Regions from separate parts of the Homo sapiens genome. Here all the other regions are linked to region 1. The links are contacts of gene promoters, found by promoter capture Hi-C in blood cells and fetal thymus (Javierre and others, 2016). All regions are on one chromosome and are shown on one strand. Each heading gives the region's core, a stretch centred on a gene start or on the middle of the fragment in contact. The rest is flanking DNA. Distances are from core to core; before and after follow the strand shown. Region 1 holds the start of EOLA1-DT (EOLA1 divergent transcript). Region 2 overlaps EOLA2-DT (EOLA2 divergent transcript). Region 3 holds the start of MAGEA8-AS1 (MAGEA8 antisense RNA 1). Region 4 overlaps LINC00850 (long intergenic non-protein coding RNA 850).

Evidence for each region. Contacts are between HindIII fragments. The CHiCAGO score rates a contact against its expected background, and 5 or more counts as called.
Region 2: a fragment that was not itself captured here is called in contact with the fragment with the promoter of EOLA1-DT in region 1 in 2 of 17 cell types (neutrophils and activated CD4 T cells); the score reaches 5.2 in neutrophils.
Region 3: a contact is called between a fragment that was not itself captured here and the fragment with the promoter of EOLA1-DT in region 1, in 1 of 17 cell types (total CD4 T cells). The highest score is 10.5, in total CD4 T cells.
Region 4: a fragment that was not itself captured here is called in contact with the fragment with the promoter of EOLA1-DT in region 1 in 1 of 17 cell types (total CD4 T cells); the score reaches 5.9 in total CD4 T cells.

Annotation. Positions count from the first base shown.
Region 1 is chrX:149,536,813-149,541,001 of GRCh38, reverse strand. EOLA1-DT (EOLA1 divergent transcript) reads left to right here and starts at 1,250. Exons shown (of 10, transcript NR_027455.5): 1 at 1,250-1,301; 2 at 2,096-2,278; 3 at 2,830-2,887; 4 at 3,224-3,369. It also overlaps a transcript of EOLA1 not described here. RefSeq lists silencers at 397-587, 620-689, 700-1,009, 1,760-1,839. The HindIII fragment of the contact is 11,440 bases long and covers 1-4,189 here.
Region 2 is chrX:149,951,121-149,955,309 of GRCh38, reverse strand. All of the region lies in intron 7 of EOLA2-DT (EOLA2 divergent transcript), which reads right to left. Among named protein-coding and RNA genes, the nearest start is that of EOLA2-DT, 15 kb to the right of the region's middle. The HindIII fragment of the contact is 3,193 bases long and covers 852-4,044 here.
Region 3 is chrX:149,893,167-149,897,355 of GRCh38, reverse strand. It overlaps MAGEA8-AS1 (MAGEA8 antisense RNA 1), which reads left to right and starts at 350. Exons shown (of 5, transcript NR_102703.1): 1 at 350-429. The HindIII fragment of the contact is 178 bases long and covers 1,597-1,774 here.
Region 4 is chrX:149,870,771-149,874,959 of GRCh38, reverse strand. All of the region lies in intron 2 of LINC00850 (long intergenic non-protein coding RNA 850), which reads right to left. Among named protein-coding and RNA genes, the nearest start is that of MAGEA8, 8.3 kb to the left of the region's middle. The HindIII fragment of the contact is 213 bases long and covers 1,829-2,041 here.

The DNA.
Region 1 (4,189 bases), core at 1-2,500:
AGCTCCCGTCATCCCTTTCACGAAGAACGTACGTGGGCGCGCAATCACGCATGTATGCACACCACGCACGTACGCGGGAGGCACGTACTCAGCCATGCATATAGACAGCAAACATTATGAATCTCGCATTCTCGAAGACACGCACTGACGACATCACGCACGTACGCACGCCCTGGCTGCTAGGAGACGCTATTCTCTTTACCTGGCCCTGATGCGCGCCAGCCAACCAGGCCAAGGCCAGGGGACCTCGAGACCGGCAGCCTCGACGAAGAACCGGAAGGAGGAAAAGGAACGGGAGGGAGGAAGAGTAAGTGGAAGGGTGGGACGAGGACACCAGGCAGGAGTTTTGGGCCCAGAGCTGCTATACCAGCAGGGAGGAGCTGGGAGAAACCGCTGGGGAGGGGGTGGAGGCGGGGCTGAGAGGAGGAGGGCGGAGCTGGGGGAGGGGCCGAGCGGGACTGACAGAAACAATTGGGGGCTGGGTTGAGGGCGGGGCTGAGATAAGAGGCGGGGTGTGGGGCAGGGCCGGGCGGGGCTGAGAGAAACCATTGTGGGCAGGGCCGTGGGAGAGCTGAGCGAGGAGAAGCTGCAGGAAGAGCTCGCGGACTCTTGAGAATCAGCAGGGGGAGGCAGGTGTCCGCTGAGAGAAGGAGGGAGGGGGAGAAAGAAATCACTGGGAGGGGCTGGGGGCGGGGTTTTTAAAGCAGCTGCGTGAGAAGTAGGGCGGGGCTGGGAGAGGCGGGGCTCTGGGGGGGCTGAGAATGCTGGGGAAGGTTTGGGGGCGGGGCTTTGGAGGCAGCCACAGGAGAAGCAGGTCGGGGCTGCGGGCGGGGCTCGGGGTGGGGCGGGGCTGAGAGAAACTGCTGGGGAGGGGGCCGAGGGCGGGGCTTTGGGAGCAGCCGCGGGAGAAGCGGGGCGGGGCAGGGAGGGGAGGGGCGGGGCAGGGAGGGGCGGGGCTGAGAGAAACTGCTGGCTGAGGTCGGGGCTTTGGAAGCAGCCCCGCGAAGAGCAGGGCGGGGCAATGGGAGAACTGAGCGAGGAGCAGCTGCGGGAGGACCCCTCGGACTCCTGAGAACCAGCTTAGGGGAGCGGGGGCTTGGGGAGGTGTAGGGTGGAATCACGAGAAAGCTCTGTGGGAGGGCCTGGTGCACAGCTCAGCTGCAGCGTGGAGCTGAGGGAAAGCCGGGCGTTCCTGGAGGAGGAGCAGGGCGGGGCTGTGGCAAAGAGGTGTGGGAGCAGATGGGGCGGGGCTGCGGGAAATTGCTGGAGAAGGGGGAGCCAAGCTGGAGTAAGGCTGGCGGGTGAGAATGGTGGGGGAGGAGCTAGTGCAGAGCTGGAGGAAAGAGCTGAAAGGTGCTGGGGTGGGCAGAGGGGTAGGAGAAGCGGGACGGGGCTAGAGGAGGCGGAGCTGGGACTGGAGATGCAGGGTGAGCAGGGTGGGGCTGCAGCAGGAACTGGGTTAGAGCTTCTGGAGGAGCCGCCTGCAAGAGGAGGGCGTAGTTGTGGGAAAGAGCTGTGGGTGGAACTGGTTAAGTGCTGGGAGGAGGAAGAGCTGGGGGCGGAACAGCTGGGGCGGAGCTGCCGGAGGAGGAGCTGGGGGTGGAGATGCTGGTGAAATGAAGCAGAGCCGAACTGGGGGTGGAGCTGTGGGTGGAGCTGGGGGAGGGAGCTGAGGCCCTTCTGTGATGCACCCTTAGGCAAGAGTCAAAACTTGCCCGCAGCGACCTAACTGCACCTCCAGTGTCTACCCCCATAGGGCACGGAAGCAGCAAGAAGGGCGGGAACACTTGACTGGGGTCTATGCAGCTCTAGGCTGAGTCTTGCAGGGCTGAGCCCCCCAGGCCTGCTCTCCTGTGTCCTAGCCGCTCTGTCAGTGCCTGCCAGTGGGGTCCGGAGGAACCGTCTCTTTAACGTCTCTTTTGCAGGTGATGAGAAACATCCCCACTCTTAATGTCTTGCCTCCTCCGACCTAAGTCGCCCAGCACACAGCCCAACTTCCCTGGCAAACTTGCTTTTCAAACTCTCTTCTCTCAGTCACGGGCTCAGGTTCTGTAGTGCTGCCATGCTTTACTCCTCTGTCCCTCCCCTTATCTAGTCTCCCGCATTGACTTCATAACCAAGTTCTGGGTCCCTGCCTCTGGAGTGCCTGATGAGACAAAACGGCTCCTCGTCCTGCATCCCCGCTGCTACTTCCAGAATTCAGGCCTCGTGGTCTGGAGCCTGCACTGTTCCATGAGCCTCCTGAGCAACCTGGAGTCCTCTGTCTTTCTTCCCTCAGGTCTGTCGTCCACATTCCATCGGCTCAGTTTCTAAGTCACAAATCTGTCCCCAGCAATCCTCTAGTGAAAACGCTGCTGGGCCTTCTCAGGTTTAAGTCCTAGCAGTTCAGGGAGTCGGCTCAGCTCTCCCCACCCTTAAGCCAAACACTCTTTGGGTTCACGCTGTGCTGTTCAGTCACTGGTCCCCACCAGCCTGCTGTTCCAGGTCTCCCTGCTTTGCACCGGCGGTTCCCATGGCCTTGTCCTGGTGCGCTCCTGGCCTCCTTCAAGGCACAACTTTAAAGTCACCTTCACAGCCCCACTCCGAGTATTAGAGACTTTCGTCTCCAGCTCTGATAGCATTTTGTACCTCCCCCGTCCCCACCCCACGTTAGGCTCTTGCAACCCAGGGTGGTAATTGCTCTGTAAGACTTGTGGCTGCCGCAGGGTCTCTTGAGTTCCTTGAAGGCAAGGCCGGTGTTTTACTCATTTCTGAAACTGGGTGCCCAGGGCACAGTATCTGCTTAGTAAGTGTTGAATGAGCAAAGGGCTGCTTTCTTGTTTTTTCTAGTGAGATGCGCCTACTTCTCCCTGGAGAAGCTCGAGGAAGCAGGAATGCTGGAGATGAGGTGAGGAGGAGAGGGTCCCTCTTTATGGGATGTAGGCCGTAGGGCTGCAGGGGACCTTCAGATCACCAGTTCCAATTCCTATGCATGCTAGCATCCCCTCCTGGGTTCCTTCCCCACAAGAATGGTTGCCAGCTTCTGCCGAACACCCCAGAACCTGCTTAGAGTGGTTTCAAATCATGAATGAGGATCCCCGGGATGGTGGGTGGCCGTTGCTCCTCCCGTGGCCTCTTGTTTGAAGAACTAGAACTCGCATAATGAGCTGGATAGCCACCGTGTGGCTGCTAGCAGGGAAGCCCTTGGTGGCCACATAAGGGCTCCCTTTTCCAACTCTCTCAGCTGCTCCTCACTCTCACTCCTGGGTGTGCTGGGCAGTGGGGTGCAATGTGCACGTAGGTGCACACTCTCCCTGGGCGGCAGCGAGAAGCAGAGGTCTGATCTGTGGTCGGATGAGGAGAGGAAGTGCAAGTAAAGCAGCTGCAGCGGTGAGTGGGCCTAGGAAGAATGGCATCAACAGGCCAGGCAGGGATGCGGGTGGTGTTCGGCTAACCCTGAGAAAGGGACCAGAATGCACCTGAGTCTTGATTTTCATTCCCAATAGCAGGTCAGCACGAAACCCAAAAACGCTCTGATTTCTGCCTTCCATGCTACACTCTCTTCACCTGCTGCCTTCTCACTCCTCTCATTAACAATGTCCTGGCAGGAACAAGACTTTCCCCTCCCTCTCTTCTCGTCTCTTAGCAGGTCAGGTCGGCCTTCACCTCCCTAGACCCGTCCTGCTCCTGCCTTCCCCTGTGGGGCCCTCCATGGATGCTCTGGAGTCCCGGGCAATAGTCAGCCAACTGCAGACATGCGGGGCCTTCTTGGGTTCCTTGCTGTGCTCCCTTGAAACCACTGTGCCTGGCTGCACCCCAGTAGCACACACTGAACTGACCCCCACTCCTGGGGCCAGCGGTGTGTCTCCTCAAGTTCTGCTTGCTTCTTCAGGCCTTGCTTGCATGCCTATCGTGCCACACATCATATCTCTTTTAGGAAGTCCTTGCCTTTTCCAAAGATCCTGCTTTGCAGCTGACTGTACCCTCTGCCTGCCTCCCCCAGGATACTGCCTCCTTCCTGAAACCACAGCCCCCGCTCAGGTCTTCCTTCCTTCCTCATCACCAGGGAGCCCCCTGCAGAGCTCCCAGTCCATCCCGGTGGCCTTCTGAGCCTCACCTCCCCTTCCTTCCCCTCCCATCCCTTCCCCTCCCCTCCCCTTCCCTCTCCCCGCTTCCCTTCCCTACCCTACCCTGCCCCCCCACCCCCTGC
Region 2 (4,189 bases), core at 1,199-3,698, 410 kb before region 1:
GGCATGGTGGCGCATGCCTGTAATCCCAGCTACTCAGGAGGCTGAGGCAGGAGAATCGCTTGAACCAGGGAGTTGGAGGTTGCAGTGAGCCGAGAATGCACCACAGCACTCCAGCCTGGCAACAGAACAAGACTCCATCTCAGAAAAACAAAAAAATATATTTACCAAATGACCCAGCAATGGCACTCTTGGGCATTCACCCCAGAGAAATGAAAACTTATGTTAATGTAGAAACTTGTATATGAATATTCACAGAAACTTTATTTGGAATAGCTCAAAGTGGAAACTACCAAAATTGACAATGCTTAAATTATAGTACATCCATACTATGAAATACTATCCAGCAATAAAAAGGAATGAACTATTGATACATGTCACAACTTGAAGGAACCTCCAGGAATTATGCTGAGTGGGAAAAAAAGCAAATATGAAAAGGAAACATACTATATAGTATGCTTCCATGTATATAACATCCTTGGAATAACAACATTATACAGATGGTAAACCAAATAGTGGTTGATAAGGGTAAGGGATGTAGAGTAGGAAGTGGGTGAGGCTGTGGAGAGGTAATATGAGAGGAATGTTGCGGTGATGGCACAGTTCTGTATGTTGATTGTCGTGGAAGCTACACAAAACTATACATGTGATAAAATTGCATAGAAACACACACACACAAGTATATGTATAACTGGTAAAATCTGAATAACCTCTGTGGATTGTACCAATGTCAATTTTCTGATACTAATATTGTACCATAGTTAGGCAAGATGTTAACATTGGGGAAGGGTGAGTGAAGGGAATACAATTCTTTGCAACTTCCTTTAAATCTATAATTATTTCCAAATAAAGCTTTTAAAATTAACCATAAGAAAACAAGCAACCCAATATTTTGAATGGACGAGAATATAAACAGAAAATTTACCACAGAAGTTAGATGGATGGCAAATAAGCATGTTAAAAGATGTTCAACATTAATAATCATTAGAGAAATGCAAATTATAACCAGAAAGAGATACCACTATACACCTTAGAGTGGCAAAACAAAACAAAAACACACACAGAAAAACTAGCAGTACCAGGTGCTGGCAAGAATGTGGAACAACTGGAACTCTCAAGCCCTCCTAGTGGGAATGCAAAATGGTATAGCCACTCAGCAAAAGTTTGACAAGTTCTCAAAAAGAACTATAACCCAGCAATTTACCAAGTAACCCAGCAATCCCACTCCTATTTACTCAAAAGAAATAAAAACTATGTTCACACAAACCCTGTACACAAATGTTTATAACAATGTATCCATAATAGAGAAAAAATGGAAACAAACCAAGTATCCCTCAACTATAGGACTCATAAACAAAATGTGATACATCTATACAATGGAATATGACCCAGCAATAAAAAGCAATGAACTTCTGGACTGGGTGCAGTGGCTCACGCCTGTCATCCCAGCACTTTGGGAGGCAGAGGCAGGTGCATCACTTGAGGCCAGGAGTTCGAGACCAGCCTGGTCAACATGGCGAAACCTTGTCTCTACTAAAAATATAAAAATTAGCCAGGCGCAATGGTGCACGCCTGTAGTTCCAGCTACTTGGGAGGTTGAGGCATGAGAATCCCTTGAATGTGGGAGGCAGGGGTTGCAGTGGGCTGAGATCACACCACTGCACTCCAGCCTGGGCAAGAGAGTCAGACTATCACACACACACACAAAGGAATGAACTACTGAAAACACAACAACATAGTTAAATCTCAAAAGCATTTTGCTACCTGAAAGAAGCTACATCCAAAAGGTTACAACCATATCATTCTGTTTCTTTGATAATCTGGAAAACTATGGGAATGGAAATTAGATCAGTGGCTGCCAGGGTTGAGAATGGAGAAGGGGATGAATGCCAAGAGGCGGTACAAAGCAATTTCTGAGGTGATGGAATTGTTTGGTAACTTTAGTGATGGCATTAGGCAAAAGCCATAAAACGGTACACCACACCAGTTTGCACTGTGTAAAAAAATAAGTAAACATGCCAAAAAAGGATCCCCCTGCATACCCACCTAAGTGACAACATGTGCTGTCAAGGACGGAGAGCAAATGGAACTCACACATTGCTGGTGGTAATGTAAATTGCTACAGCCGCTTTAAAAATCTGTTTTTCAATATCTGCTAAAATTAAACATATGCATATCCCATAAATCATCAATTTTACCTCTAGACATGTACATAACAGTAATACATATTCACCAAAGAAAGTAAATCCAAGCATGTTCATAGCAGCTTTGCTTGTATTACAAAAACCTGGGAACAATTCCAGTATGTACAAATAGCAGAATGGGTAAATATATCATGGTATACTGATAAAAATGGAATAGTATATGGCAATGAGAATAAAGTATTGCTGACATGACAACATGGATGAATCTCACAAGCAATATTTAATATAAAAATCCAGACAGTAATAAGATTACGCAGTGTACGATCTCATTTATATAAAGTAATAAAAAATGTTGCAAAATAGCGATTACCTTTGGGCAGAAGTAGTGACTTGGAGGGTATTACAAAGAGGTCCTAGCGGTGTTCTATTTTGTGATTTAAGTGCTGGCTATCTTGTTAAGTTGTGAATGTTCATCAGTGCATTCACTTAATATTTGGGCATGTTTTCTGTTTGCAAATTATACTTCCATTAAAAATGTTTTAGGCCAGGCATGGTAGCTCATGCCTGTAATCTCAGCACTTTGGGAGGCTAAGGCAGGAGGATTGCTTGAGGACAGGAATTTCAGACCAGCCTGGGCAACATAGTGAGATCTCATCTTTAAAAAAAATTTTTTTTTAATTTGCTGGGTGTGCTGGTGCATGCCTGTGGTCCTAGCTACTAAGGAGGCGGAGGTGGGAGGATCACTTGAGCCCGGAAGTCAAGGCTGCAGAAAGCTATGATCACATCACTGCACTCCAGCCTGAGTGACAAAGTGAAACCCTGTTTCAAAAAAAAAGTTTAAGAACTTTTAAATGTATGCTTCATTTTCTCTTCTTTTTAAAATTTAGGCTTGCTTATATAGCCAATTGCTAAAAATCTGTAACTAAAACCAAGACTACAGTAGCTCAATGCATAGAAGTTAAAGATAGATAAGGCAATTTTGTAACCTCGCCTTTTACTTTCTGTTTGTTGGCTTTTACATTACTTCAAAATTGTTAAGGAGTAATAAATGCCTGTCCACGTCCATTCCTGTCTGGCCTAGAACATTTAAACTGTCTATAAGTCTTTTGGCTGTAAGTCTCTTGGCCATAGAGATCCTACCAAGGGACAGGATGGACCTGGGGCAGGCAGCCAAACCACCTCCACAATGCTATGGGACAAAATAAAAGTTTGTCCATTGATGTTGCCTCTGGCAAATCCTGGCCAGAAGGAAAGAATGTAAACCAAAAATAAAATTCTAAGCTCCCCAACCACCTGAATGGACCCCTCCTCTTGGCCAAGGGCATTCCAAAGTTAACCTGAAAAACTAGTTCAGGACATGATGAGGAAGGGGGAGTCGGACATGCCTCATTACCATCAACATGAACACTGTCCTTAAGACTGATACAATAGACTCTTTAAGTCTAATAAGAAACATTTACAATCTATTCTCTCTGAAGCCTGCTACCTGGAGGTTTCATCTGCATGATAAAACTGTGGTCTCCACAACTCCTTATCGTAAACCAGACATTCCCTTCTAATGATTCCAGGTCTTTAGATAATAACTCAACCAATTATTAATACCAGTCAGAAAATTTCTGAACCTGCCTATGACCTGGAAGTCCTCCAACTTCCATTTGTCCTGCTTTTCCAGACCAAACGAATGTACATCTCACATGTATCAGTTGATGTCTTATATCTCCCTAAAAACCAAACTGTGGCCTGACCACCTTGGGCATGTCACCAGGACCTTCTTAGGCAGTGTCACAGGCATGTCCTTAGCCTTGGCAAAATAAACTTCTAAATTGATTGAAAAAAATTTTTAGGTTTTCTGATAAGATTGTCTGATTCCAAGGGAGAGGTGTGAGAATTATACATGAAAGCTTTTGTTCCCAATTGGACAGAAGGATGCAAGCGACTTTTGATCACCTGCTCTACCATGAATAGTGCCACGGGCTTCACAACAACCACGAGAGGTATGTATTTTATGTCCACTTTAGAGATGAAGAAGACTCAAGAACAAGAAGATT
Region 3 (4,189 bases), core at 436-2,935, 360 kb before region 1:
TGACCTGAAATCAGGCAAAGAGGTCTTAATCATGACACCAAAAGCGTGATTCATAAAGGAAAAAGTGATAAATTGGATTCCTCAAAATTAAAACTTTTACTTTGGGAAATACATGGATCAGAGAATAAAAAGTCAAATGTGGAGTTACACAAATATATGCAAATTGTATGCCAAACAAAAGTCTTTTATGCAGAATATATAAAGAGTCCTAAAGTTTCAGAAATGAGAAAATGTGTCAAAAGACAAAATTACACCAAATTTGGTTCAAAAATCTAATTAGCTTTCATTTGCAATTCTATAGTGAACAACTTCTCATTCTATTTAAATAGAATAGGTGCTCCAATGAGCTGAACATAACATGTTGGCTTTACATACAGAGCAGGGCTGAGAAATGTACAAACAAGTCTTCAGCCTGGGCCCCATTCCCAGGTAAGTAGCTGAATTGGGGTTTTGTCTTGGAAATTTTCCGTAATGGCTAAAAGTTAAGATTAGCAAGTAGCTGGTCTTAATTTCTACTTACCAATAGAGTACTCGGTAATCCTGTGCTATCTTTTGTTTTGCTTAACTGCCTTTCTGTTTTTCAGTTTGTTTTTTTTACTGTTGTTTTTGCTGTTTTAGTCTTTTTCCCAATGGATTTGGCCAACTCTACTGGACTTGGTCAAATCCAAAGGAAAGTTCCAAATTATGGGGAACAAAGTCTCTGAATTGGCTAAAATCATGCAGCTGAAAAAAAAGAAAGAATTTGATTACCTTAGGTGCATTATTTACATAACAAGGCCACCTTTTAGTAGCCAAGCCAAATTGAAAGAGCAATGGCTGTAGTTCAGTAGCTAAGATTCTGCTCTTTTTTCACATGACAGCCTCGGTTTGGTTCCTAAATCAAGTCCTTTCTGGTTTGATATTTTTGTTACATTTGAACTATCAGCAGTTTATCCCAGCCAAAATATGGTAATGAGATTTAACGAATTTTTTTAAGAGCACAATTATTATGTCAGCTTAATTAAAAGCTAAGATCCAAGATGTATATGTGTGTGTGCCTCTGTGTGTGTGTGTGCCTCTGTGTGTGTGTGTGTGTGTGTGTGTGTATGTGTATGTTCAGAACAGGGATCTCTGAGAAAAACAGAAACAAAAATTTAAAAAGGTAAATATATATGTATACACATACACCTACATATATATTATATATGTGTGTGTGTGTGTGTGTGTGTGTGTGTGTATGTATATATTGAAAAGGCCTTTATGCTTTCTTTCTCTTCTAGAATATTATTTTTTGAGAAAAAGCGTTTTTTACCATTCTCAGTCAACGGAATTCTGTTTTCTCCATTTACTTCTGCCAGTCTCTTTCTTCTTGCCACCGTCTGCTGCATGAGGGGCCTTAAATAATTTCAGGGTCTGTGAAATTAGATTTTTTTCTAATTTCAGAAGCGCTCATTAGAGCTCTTTAGATTTAATTTTTATATATTTAATTATATATTTATATATTGATTTATAATCTATATAATTTAATTTTATATATGTAATTGGCTTACAGACAAAAAAATCACTTAAATCAAATACTTTATCAGAAAAATAGGAGCCCAAATGCTTTTATAAGCTTACTTAAGTAAATCCTTAATAAATAAGTTGGTTTTAAAATTATTGGTAAAATAAAATTAGAAATTTCTTCAGAATGGTCAACATACATTATTGTTGGATTCATTGGTCTAGTAGTTTAATATTTAATATCTGTTAGGTGTTATAAGTTGTCAAAATTTCGCAGGAGAATTGTAAAGCTTGCAGCCCACAAGAGAATTATTTTTGTATAGTTTTTTATAAATAAGGCACTGAATATTGTTGAGTTTAATGGGAACAGCTAAATCTTGAATATTGGCAAAATATACCATTTTTTTAACCTTAAGATTCTTACTGAGGTAAATACCTGAAATGCACGTGCTATAAAATGGTTAATAGGGATATAACTTTAAATGATGACTATCACAATTTTCATAAACAATCTAGTTAAACGATTGAAAAATACAATTAATTAATTGATTAGGAAAATGTAATGAAATAAATGCTTGCAAATAAACCTCACATAGTTTAGAATCTAAAGTTGTATTGAGTTAAATAATAGATATTCATTAAATGGATCATTTCCAATTTCTTTAAAAAAATTATGGGGAAACATTTTTCATAAAAAATGTGTTCTTATTTAAAGGGAAATAAGTTTAGTCTAAATTTAAATGTTATTTAATGGTTATTTTTGAAACAAGGTAAAAGGAACCAGTAAATAAGAGAGATGTAAAGAAAGTTATAGATATAATAAGATATTTTGGTAAGAAAGGCTAAAAGGAGACTAATTTTATATAAAATGAATCTTGCATGGTAAATTTTTTGCCCTAAAATAAAATGACTGGTTATTTAAGAAAAAGGTTGTTTAGGATACAACAGGAGGTCCAAGAATGTTGTAAATGGTTTCTCTAAGCCATAATAAAGTTTGTAAAAAGAGCATTCATAAGACAGAAACTTTATGTGATCAAGTTGGCTATAACTAAAAAGAAATTATTTATAATTGTCTTTCTAGAGATTGGGTATTGATAAGGAAAAAACACTAAAACACTAAGGAATTGGTTAGAACAACAACATTTTTAAGGTATTGATTTATTATTAATAAAATTACAAGGGATTTTAATTTTTTAACTCAAAAGCTCAACTGTTATTGCATCTCACTGTTTTCAGCTTTCTCTCCCCTTTGAAAAGGGCTGAGATAATAACTGTCTCCTTTAACTTTTTCGTCAGCTCCTGTAACCTTTTTCCTCAGGTTTTAACTGCTGTTGTGGACTGATGCTGAAAGTGTTTCATTTTAAAGGTCTAAAGGAAATGTTTTCTTCCAGTATGATATTCTGTGCTCTTGGCTTTAAATTCTATGAAACTAAGAATTTTCACTTATGACCCAGGACACACTCTACCTATTTCTAAGTACTATTTTCATTAGTTCTGACTTGCAGGTTATCTAAAAGGACTCCCCATAGGAAAAGCATTCACACTGCAGAAGGTTGTTTTTTGTTTTTTTTTTAACTTTTGGTAAGTGGCCTAACAAACAAATTTTACATTTTATCAAAATAATTCCTATGTCATTGTTACTATGTTTTGATTTCCTCAGGAAAACTGAGATAAAAAATTAAGATTATTACATCCATGTAAGTTTCTGTATTTCTTTTTTTTTTTTTTTTTTTGAGGCGAGGTCTCGTTCTATCGCCAGTCTGGAGTGCAGTGGCGATCTTGGCTCACTGCAACCTCCGACTCCTGGGTTCAAGCGATTCTCCTGCCTCAGCCTCCTGAGTAGCTGGGATTACAGTTGCCTGCCACCACGCCCAGCTAATTTTTTTTGTATTTTTAGTAGAGACGGAGTTTCACCGTGTTAGCCAGGATGGTCTCGATCTCCTGACCTCGTGATCCGCTCGCCTCGGCCTCCCAAAGTGCTGGGATTACAGGCGTGAGCCACCATGCCCGGCCAGTTTCTATATCTCTTTTAAAGTCCTAGTGCTATTAAGTTACAGGGCTTTGATTCCTGGGACTAAAAAGGATGCCAAGTCCTGCTAAAAGCAAAAGATGAGGAGAGGAAGGAGCCCAGGGAACGAGAGCACAGGATGAACCCAAGTTCACTTTGATTATGTGGCAGTCAGCACCAGTGTTTCCATTCTGTTTTGGTCTGTTTTTCTGGGACCTGGGGATAGACCTTAGTCCAAAACAATGCCTCTTAAGAATTCATTTAACACAAACAACCAAATTTTGTAAATGGGCAAAAAACATCAATAGACACTTCCCCTAAGTGGACATACACATGACAAATAAGCACATGAAAAAGTACTGTCCATCTCATCTATTAGAGAAATGAGAATTAAACCATGATGAGATAGCATAACACATATTTGAAAATGATTTTTTTTTTTTTTTTTTTTGAGACGGAGTCTTTTTTTGAGATGGAGTCTTGCTCTTGTCGCCCAGGCTGGAGTGCAGTGGCACAATCTCGGCTCATTGCAACCTACACCTCCCGGATTCAAGCTTCCCCTGCCTCAGCCTCCTGAATCTGGGATTACAGGCACCTGCCACCACGCCCGGCTAATTTTTGTACTTTTAGTAGAGATGGGGTTTCGCCATTTTGCCCAGTCTGGTCTCAAACTCCTGACCTCAGGTGATCTGCCTGCCT
Region 4 (4,189 bases), core at 686-3,185, 330 kb before region 1:
CAGTCCATCATTGATGGGCATTTAGGTTGATTTCATGTCTTTGCTATTGTCCATGATGCTGCAATGAACATACATGTCCTTGTGTCTTTATAATAGAATGAGTTATATTCCTTTGGGTATATACCAATAATTTGATTGCTGGGTCAAAATGTATTTCTGTTTTTAGGTCTTTGAGGAACTGCCATACTATCTTCCACAATGGTTGAACTAATTTACACTCCCATCAACAGTTTATAAGCATTCCTTTTTCTTTGTAACCTCCTCAGCATCTGTTATTTTTTGATTTTTTAGTAATAGCCATTCTGACTGCTGTGAGATGGTATCTCATTGTGGTTTTGATTTGCATTTCTCTAATGATCAGTGATGTTGAGCTTTTTTTTCATATGCTTGTTGGCCGCATATATGTTTTCTGTCTTCTTCTGAAAAGTATCTGTTCATGTCCTTTGCCCACTTTTTAACGGGGTTGTTTATTTTCTTCTTGTAAATTTGTTTAAGTTCCTTATAGACGCTGGATATTAGATCTTTGTAAGATGCATAGTTTGCAAAAATTTCCTCTCATTTTGCAGGCTTTCTGTTCACTTTGTTGATAGTTTCCTTTGCTGTGCAGAAGCGTTTTAGCTTAATTAGATCCCATTTGTCAATTTTTGCTTTTGTTGCAATTGCTTTCAGCATGTTTGTCATGAAATCTTTGCCCATTGCTATGTCCTCAATGGTATTGTTTAGGTTATTTTCCAGGGTTTTCATAAGTTTTACATTTAAGTCTTTGATCAATCTTGAGTTAATTTTTGTATATGGTATAAGGAAAGGGTCTAGGTTTTTTTTTTTGTTTGTTTTTTTTTTTTTTTGAGACGGAGTCTCACTTTGTCACCCAGGCTGGAGTGCAGTGGCACAATCTCGGCTCACTGCAAGCTCCGCCTCCCAGGTTCACGCCATTCTCCTGCCTCAGCCTCCTGAGTAGCTGGGACTACAGGCACCTGCCACCACGTCCGGCTAAGTTTTTGTATTTTTGGTAGAGACGGGGTTTCACCATGTTAGCCAGGATGGTCTCAATCTCCTGACCTCGTGATCCGCCCGCCTTGGCCTCCCAAAGTGCCAGGATTACAGGCACGAGCCACCGCGCCTGGCCAGAGTCCAGTTTTAATCTTCTGCATATGGCTAGCCAATTATCCCAGCACCATTTGTTGAATAGGGAATCTTTTCCCCATATCTTGTTTTTGTCAGGTTTGTTGAAGATCAGATAGTTGTAGGTGTGTGGCCTTATTTCTGGGTTCTCAATTCTGTTCCATTCATCTATGTGTCTGTTTTTATACCAGTACCATACTATTTTGATTATTATAGACCTGTAGTATAGTTTGAAGTTGGGTAGTGTGAAGCCACCAGCTTTGTTCTTTTTGCTTAGGATTGCCTTGGCTATTTGGGCTCTTTTTTGGTTTTACATAAATTTTAAAATAGTTTTTTTTCTAGTTGTGTGAAGAATCTCAATGGTAGTTCAATAGGAATAGCATTGAATCTACAAATTGATTTGAGAAGTATGTCCATTTTTATGACATTGATTCTTCCTATCCATGAGCATAGGATGTTTTTCCATTTGTTTGTGTCATCTTTGATTTTTTTGAGCAATGTTTTGTAGTTCTCATTGTAGAGATCTTTCACCTGCCTGGCTAACTGTATTCCTAGGTATTTTATTCTTTTTGTGGCAATTGTGAATGAGAGTTCATTCCTGATTTGGCTCTTGGCTTGACTGTTGTTGGTGTGTAGGAATGTTACTGATTTTTGTACATTGATTTTGTATCCTGAGACTTTTTTGAAGTTATCAGCTTAAGAAGCTTTTGGGCTTAGACTATGGGGTTTTCTAGATATAGGTCATGTCATCTGCAAACAGGGATAGTTTAACTGACTGCCTCTCTTCCTATTTTGATGCCCTTTATTTCTTTCTCTTGACTGATTGTCATGTCCAGGACTTCCAGTCCTATGTTGAATGGGAGTGCTGAGAGAGTGCATCCTTCTCTTGCGCCGGTTTTCAAGGGAAATGCTTCAAGCTTTTGCCCATTTAGTATGATGTTGGCTGTGAGTTGTCATAGATGAGTCTTATTATTTTGAGGTATGTTCCTTCAATACCTATTTTATTGAGAGTTTTTAACATGAAGGGGTGTAGAATTATATTGAAAGCCTTTTCTGAATCTATGAAATAGTCGTGTGATTTTGTCTTTAGTTCTGTTTATGTGATGAATTACATTTATTGATTTGTATATATTGAACCAACTTGTATCCAGGGATGAAACCTACTTGATCGTGGTGGATAAGCTTTTTGATGTGCTGCTGGATTTAGTTTGCCAGTATTTTGTTGAGGATTTTTGCATCACTCTTCATCAAGAATCAGGGTTCTTGCACTGATTCTTATTATCCTTATTATCTTTGTGGGCTTATGTACCTTCAGTCTTTGAGGTTTCTGACCTTTGGATGGATTTTTTCTTTTATCCCATTTGATGACCTTGAATGTTCGACTGTGGTGTAAGGTGAAGTGAGACTCCAGCCTGGGTGACAAAGTGAGACTCCATCTCAAAAAAAAAAGTCAGCTGGCTGGCTTTGTTTCTGGGGGCCAACACTCAGCACTCAACACCTGGACTGTATGTTCTAATTCTGGGGGACTTGTATTGGGTCCCATCTTTGTTCTCTGGCTCCTCGAGGTTTGGAATCCACTGCACTGTGCAGGCAGAGGTACAACAGCTGTGGTAGAGTGTTTGTGGGTGCCAGGGTGCCTACCTCCCTGCGTGTGTTCACCACAGTGGCGGAGGCAATGCAGCTGGATGGGGGATGGGGGCCCCCTGCTGGAGACTGTGTGTGTGGTCACACTGGAGGTGGTGGTGACTCAGGGGTGGGGTGCTGGTGAGTGCAGGTCTAGGTGCCTTCTCTATGCCCCACAAGCAGGAGTGATCACTCATGGTGGGGGAGGATCTGCTGTCATATCCCCATTCTAATCAGGAGAAAAAGATAAGACAAATACCACTGGATGGATTTTGTGCTAAAGAGCTGACCAATATTCCTCAAAAGTGTTAAGATCATCAAAAACAGGGACAGTCTCAGGAATTTTTACAACTAAGACAAGACTAAGGAAGCATGACTAGCAATGGAAAGAATTAAACTTTTATTCTGCCCTTCCTGTGTATTTTAAGATTACTCTACAGGCACAGTTGAAGAGGGAGAGCTGTTCCTCACTGAAAAATTTAAGCCAAGCCTAGTGAAGGCTATGTTTAACAAAAGAAACAATATCTAGAACCCCAGTGACTGAACTGATGTAGGTTGAATGAAACACTTTGGTTAAAGGTCAGTGAGGAATCAGTCAAAGGAGGAACGAGACTGTCATCACCTGAACCCACGATCAGTGCTGATATGGTAAAGAGTGAAAAAACCAGAACTCATGTGCTTCATGCTGGGATGCTGTAGGAGACATGGCACCACTGATGAAGTCCTTTTATCAGAAGAGTGAGACCTGCCTCTAACCTTGTCACAGAGGCTAACTTCCTATGATCAGAAACACTGGGAAAGAGCAACAAGTTAAATGACACAAGAAGGCAGCATACAGACAAATGAATGGTGGTGAGACATGCTGCAGGACCACAGGCCAGTCTGCTAAAACAAGCCAATAGAATGAAAAAGGACAATGGGATGAAGGCAGACATTGTGGGCAATAGGTCTGCTGGAGACTTAAAAGAGACCCAAGAGTATGATCTAAAGCAGAACATCCGTACACCCTAAGCTCCAGAATGTCCCCTCTGAGGTATGTACTAGTGAAAAGGCATACATTCATTTGGCAAAAGATGTGTCTAAGCATGCCCTCAGTAGCACGCTAGAAACAGCCCCAGTGTTCATCACCCTAGCATGGGTAAATACATTGGGATATATACAAAGGAATACTATACAGCCATGAGCATGAAAAAACCATTGTTACTTCTACAACATGGATGAAGGTCACTAATCTATTTTTGATCAAATATAGCCAGACCCAAAGAATATCAGCTCAATAATTCCATTTAAATAAAGATCAAAACAGGCAGTACTACTCTATCCACTAAAGTTAGGATAGTGGTTACCTTGGGAGACAGTGACTGGGAGGGGAATGAGGGGGATTCTCAGAGAATATGTTAATTTCTTGAGAGACGATGGGCCCTCCAGGGATATTCACATATGA